Regions from separate parts of the Homo sapiens genome. Here region 1 is linked to region 2. Evidence: promoter capture Hi-C in 16 types of primary human blood cells and fetal thymus (Javierre and others, 2016). All regions are on one chromosome and are shown on one strand. The core of a region is centred on a gene start or on the middle of the fragment in contact, and the rest is flanking DNA. Distances in the headings are between cores, read along the strand shown.

The links. The method cuts DNA at HindIII sites, captures the fragments that hold promoters and counts their contacts. A CHiCAGO score of 5 or more calls a contact.
Region 1: a contact is called between a fragment that was not itself captured here and the fragment with the promoter of PTPRN in region 2, in 2 of 17 cell types (M0 macrophages and fetal thymus). The highest score is 5.9, in M0 macrophages.

What each region holds. Positions count from the first base shown.
Region 1 is chr2:219,172,660-219,175,775 of GRCh38, forward strand. CNPPD1 (cyclin Pas1/PHO80 domain containing 1) reads right to left here. Exons shown (of 8, transcript NM_015680.6): 3 at 2,932-3,013; 4 at 2,329-2,449; 5 at 2,119-2,247; 6 at 1,487-1,548; 7 at 691-808; 8 at 1-469. Among named protein-coding and RNA genes, the nearest start is that of CNPPD1, 2.7 kb to the right of the region's middle. The HindIII fragment of the contact is 3,353 bases long and covers 1-3,116 here.
Region 2 is chr2:219,308,117-219,310,899 of GRCh38, forward strand. It overlaps PTPRN (protein tyrosine phosphatase receptor type N), which reads right to left and starts at 1,285. Exons shown (of 23, transcript NM_002846.4): 1 at 1,102-1,285. The coding sequence starts at 1,216. The HindIII fragment of the contact is 26,349 bases long and covers 1-2,783 here.

The sequences.
Region 1 (3,116 bases), core at 289-2,788, 140 kb before region 2:
GAAGTGAAAGGAGCACCGGGCTCCAAGGCCAGGGGGGAGCCAGGCCATAGGTATGGTACCAGGGGCTGGACAGCGCAGTGGGGACTGTACGGTTGGGGTGGAGGCAGGCATGGCAGGTTGGGGAGTCTCTCTGGAGCTTCTGGCAAAGGTGGCAGTTATGAAGAAGAGTGGGAGGGGCAGGGGGGTCTGGGGGAGGCAATGGTGGAGGAGTCAGTGAGGCCAGAAGACTGCCCCAGAGTGACCGCAGCCCCATGCTGCCTTCCAGGCAGCTGGAGACATTAGCGAGAGACGGCAGGCATTGTGGCACAGAAGGTATGCAGGGCTCCAGGAGGCAACGGGAGGTCAGTCCAAGGTCAGGCGGCCCAGGTGTAGGGATGCAGGACAGCCCCAAAGACTGATGTATTACGGCCACCGATGCCACAGCCAGGGCCACACTGCTCACATATGCCACAGCTAACAGGCAAGACAGCTGCAGGAGAGGAGATAAGAAAGAAGGAATCTGTCTTTAACACATTCACCCCTTGTCTCTAGAAATCTGTGTTCCAGTTGGAGGTCTCTATAGCCATTTACACCCCACTCTGCCCATCTATTCCCAACCCCATCTCCTGGGCTTTTCAGCAATCACTTCACACCATCCCACCCTACACACCGGCCTGCTCAAGCTCCCTATCCTTCCGAGCCCCTCCTCACCTTTACCAGCCGCTGGCAGAGGGAGCCCAGGGCCAACTGCCAGGTCGGCTGCTCCAGCAGCACACACAGGTCTGTGTAGGTGTACCAGCCTCGCCACCGTCCCTGCTGCTCAGCCACACTGGGGGAAGTGGAGAAATGACAAGAGTATGCAACTGTCCTGCAGCCAGCCCAGTGGCACCCTCATACCACTCAGGACCCACCAGGAAACACTGGGAAGCCTGTTAAACCCAGATTCCTAGGCTATCTGCTGATCTAGAAACTAAGGGTGAGACCAAGACCTATATTTTATTTATTTTTATTTATTTATTTTGTTAAGACAGGATCTTGCTGTCTCCCAGGCTGGAGTGCAGTAGTGCAATCATAGCTCACTGCAGACTCAACATCCTGGACTCAAATGATCCTCTTGTCTCAGCCTCCTGAGTAGCTGGGATTATGGGTGTACACCACTGCATCTGGCTAGTATTTTTTTCTGGTAGGGTCAGGCATCTTGCTATATTGCCCAGGCTGGTCTCGAACTCCTGGACCCAAGTAATCCTCCAGCCTCACCCTCCCAGAGTGCTAGGATTATAGACATAACTACCATACCCACCCAATACATGTATTTTAAATAAGCTGCTTCTCACCTTCCCAAAGGTGATGAAGAAGAGGACAGATGGGTCTGGGAACCACTATCTGGGCAATTCTCTTTCTTGTCTCCTCCCTCCCCCAGTTACACAGACTCTCATCTCTAGCTCCTATGGCTGAGGACTCAGCCCCCAAATCCCTCGAGCCCTTCTTCCCAACTCCTAGAACCTACCAGCTCTCCAACCAGCTCAGCACCTCAAAGATCTCCCGAGGGTCAGTGTAGAGATGCCAATCCTGTGAGTACGGAGAGTGGACATCAAACCAGACTTGGATGAGCCACAGTCATTTAATAATAAGAGCCATAGCAGCAACTACAACCGCCCCTATGGCTAATGCATATTTGGCACTTACCATGTGCCAGATACTGTCTCAAAAGTTTTTACACATTAACTCATTGAATCACCACCTGCCTGGTTTCACATTATACTCTCCACTAAGCAAGAGGGGAGAAAATGACCCTGAGAATGGTCTGTGTCCACAGGGAGCTAAACATCTAGGGGCAGAGAAAGTATGGACACAAATATTCAGAACCCAATAGGATAAACTCTGACTCAGAGTGTACCCTGTGGGGCCCTGGAGGAATAGAGGAGGCGAGGAAATGTTCTGCTCTTGGCCTTACTGCTCTACGAATCTCCAAAAACTGGTTAGTACTGAAGAGATAGGAAAGGAAGACACTAACACAAAGGCAGGAGGAGGACAGGAAGAGAAATGACGAACCAACAGAAGACTGAGAGAGAACAAAGGACTAAAGGACGGTTAAAGATGGGCCAGGGAAACTGAGCAAGAGAGAGAACAGCTGCTCACCATGGCACTCAGGAAGCCCCTCTCCAAGGCATTGAGAGTGGGCACGGCCACACCCCCAGCAGCTCCCCATTCGTCGTTGAAGACCTCCTCCTCCTCCCCTTCATCATAGAGGTACTTACTGGCCACCATCTGCAGAGGAACCAGAAGTGGTGGAGCAGAGCTCATAGCAGGCTCTTGGCTCTTTAGGGAGATGGGGAGGGGGTGTCTTACCATGGAGATCAGGAACAAGTCAGAGGATGACACATGCTGCAAGTAGTCTGGGTTTCGGTGCCGGAGCCGTTCAATGTACACCAGAGCCAGCATCATAGCACATGGGGAGATGCATGCCTCCCTGGGTGGTAGAAAGGATCACTAATTAAACCCAAGGGTCCTTCAGCTCTTGCAAGTCTTATGATGCTCGTTCCTGTCTTTACCTCTTATCTTTGGAAAAAAACTATTCCTGGCTGGGCACGGTGGCTCATGTCTGTAATCCCAGCACTTTGGAAGACCAAGGTGGGTGGACTGACACCAGGAGTTTGACACCAGCCTGGCCAACATGGTGAAACCCCGTCTTTACTAAAAATACAAAAATTAGCCAGGGGCGGTGGTGTGTGCCTGTAGTCCCAGCTACTGGGGAGGCTGAGGCACAAGAATCACTGGAACCCAGGAGGCGGAGGTTGCGGTGAGCCGAGATTGTGCCACTGCACTCCAGCCTGGGTGACAAAGTGAGACTGTCTCAAAAAAAAAAAAAAGAAAGAAAGAAAAGAAAGAAAAGACGATTCCCCTTTCTCTAGGGCCCAAACACTCTCATCCTATCCTCATTTCCAGGCTCACCGGGACACATGAGCTACATATTTCTTCTGGAGTCGGCGAATAGGGCTGGGGGCTGCCTTCTGGAGCAGTTCGACAGCAATGTCTGCAAGGGACAGAAGGAAGGCCGAGTGAGCAAACAAGCACCCACACCCAACACACCAGTCCCCACTGCTAGCAGAAGACCCAGATCTGTATTTTCTGAGGCC
Region 2 (2,783 bases), core at 35-2,534:
AGATTCATAGAATTACTGCAGGAGAGGTTTTGGCCAAATTCTGAAAGAGGAATTTCCTTCCCAAATATGGAAAAGCATCCTATAATGGCCTGGAACTCAGAAGAGGTTCTAGCACACTTCCCCCGGTCGGGGGAAAGAGGGCATGGGTGGGGCTGGGGAGGGTGTCTCTTAGGCATCTCTCCTCGCGCTGTCCCGAGCCGCTGGCGCTGTCCGCGGTGCTGAAGCTCTGAGTCTGGCGCCGCCAAGGGCTGGCCTTGGAGGCGGTTACCAGAGAGGAAGGGGTCACAGAGCGAGGACTCTCCACTAGACCTGAGCCCTCTGTTGTATTCTGCCAACCCACAGCGTCACAGGAAGTACTCTGCCTCTCGGGCCTCCAAGCCCGGGTGGGGAAAGAGGGCGCCAGGCGGCGAGGCTGCGCCCCTTCCCCCACGCGCCACCCTCCCATCCCCCACCCCCTGTCCGTGAGTCAGCGCTGACTGTCTCTGTCCGCACAGATGTGAGTCAGCACCAGGCCTGGCTGTGGGGAGGGGGACAAGAGAGGACCCTCCCCTCTTCATCCTCTTCTGCCCCCTCCCCGTGCTGTCCCCCGTTACAGGAGATCAGATCGCTGCAATCAGCTTCTCTAGGCTTACGGAGAAACCCTGGCCTCTCTCTCTGCCCAGCTGGGACTCTATGTCTGCGGCCCAGGCTTCCACTGCCCAGAGATCACCGTTCCCTCATTCTCCCCGCCACCTCCCCTTCCCATTCCTCAGCGCCTGTCACCACCTCCCAGGCGCCTCGGAGCAAGTGGCTTCTCCTGTGGTCTCGCAGCCGGTCTCTAAGTCCCTCTGCCCACATGCACCCCGTGTCCTTCTCCCGAACCTGCAATTTTCCCCAGAGCCCAATTCTCTTAGGTCCCGCCCCCGTATTCCCAGCCCCACCTCCAGGCCTACGCCCCTTTCCTCCGAGACGCCCTCTCACCTTCCTCATCTCGCATGCCTCCCCCAACCCATATTCTCCCCGAGCTTCATGACATTTCACCCTCACCCCCACCGAGTTTCGCTCCAGGCCCCAAGCTGCTCCCCGCCCCCCACCACCCGCCAGCCCAAGTTTCCTCCTGACCGTGGGCACTAACGGCGCTGCAGCCCCCCGGGCGGCTGCTCAGCAGCAGGAGGCAGAGGAGCAGCCGGAGACCCCCGGATCCCCCGAGACCCCCAGGCCGCCGCGGGCGCCGCATCTTTCCGAGCTCCGGGCGCTCGCTCCCGGGCCGGAGCCGCAGCGACGCTGGCGGGAGCCTGCCAGAGGGGCTGAGGCGGGGCTTGCCGCTCCCCACCTCCCTACGAGGCGGGGTCTACATGCCCCTCTCGCTGCAACGCGGCCAACCGCAGGCGGGTGCTGACGACACCTCCACCCCCGGCTCGTAAGCTAATTTGCGTCACATATGGCGTAAGAGCCCTGTCGGAGCGGGGGACCTACCTAGCCCATCCCTCCTCCATCAAATAGTAGGCGCCTCGCTAGAATTCCCACTTGGCCCCATCCCTGTAGCCCTCTTCTAGGATCACCTCTGTCTCCCCGCCCCAGGGTGGGTGAAAAGGGTTAAGTTAAGTGGGGGGCCAGGAAAGATAGGTGGGTCCAGAACGATAAACCCGAAGACAAGAAGCAGAAAAGTGGGTAGAATAAGTACTCTTACTCATTGTCATTGAAGATACTGTTCTCTTCCTTAAGAAAAAATGGTTAGGCATGCCTAGATTCCAGTTCTAGCAGGGCATCTACTAAGGGTATGACCTTGGGCACCTTGTTTAACTTGTCTGCGTCCAAGTTTCCTGATCTGCAAAGTGGAGGTGTTAATAGTTACTACCCGCCTCACACAGTGATTGTGAAGATTTTGTTCGTTACACTAATATGGATCACTTAGAAGGATGACTGGACTGGTGCATACTACATGCTCCATACATATTAGCTGTCATCATTAGCTTTTATTTATTTTTTATTGAGATGGAGTCTTGCTCTGTTGGCCAGGCTGGATACTGGCGTGATCTTGGCTCACTGCAATGTCCACCTTCTGGGTTCAAGCCATTCTCCTGCCTCAGCCTCCCTAGTAGCTGGAATTACAGGCGCACAGCACCTTGCCCGGCTAATTTTTGCATTTTTATTGGAGATGGGATTTCACCTTGTTGGCCAGGATGGTCTTGAACTCTTGACCTCAGGTGATCCAACGGCCTTCGCCTCCCAAAATGCTGGGATTACAGGTGTGAGCTACCGGGCCTGGCCTCATCATTAGCTTTGACTCTCCTTTCTCTCCGTCTGTGCCACCTCGAGGCTATCAATCATTTTATGGTTTCTCCCTGCAAAATACATCTCCCATCAGTCCACTTCTGTCCATCCTCACTACCTGAACTGAAACACTGTGCTCTTTCACCACGACCACTGCAGCAATCAGCTAGTAACTGCTCTTTTGCTTCCACTCTAGTCATCCAATAAGTAGGGGAGTGAGCTTCTTAAGTTCAGATTTGATCTCCTTCCTCTCTTGCTTTCCAGTAAAATAAAATAAAATTTAAAAAGGACAGAAATGCATAATGAATACTTACATACTCATCATCCATACTTAATGGTTATTGATGTTTTACAATATTTGCTTCTTTTTAGTATTTAAACATGAATGATAGACATCATGACATTTCTCTTCTAAATATTTCATTATGCATCTCCAAGAAATAAGGACATTTTCCTGCATAACCTAAGTGCTGTTATGACACCTAAAAAAATTTACAATAATTCCTTAATATAATTTTTTAAATTTTTTT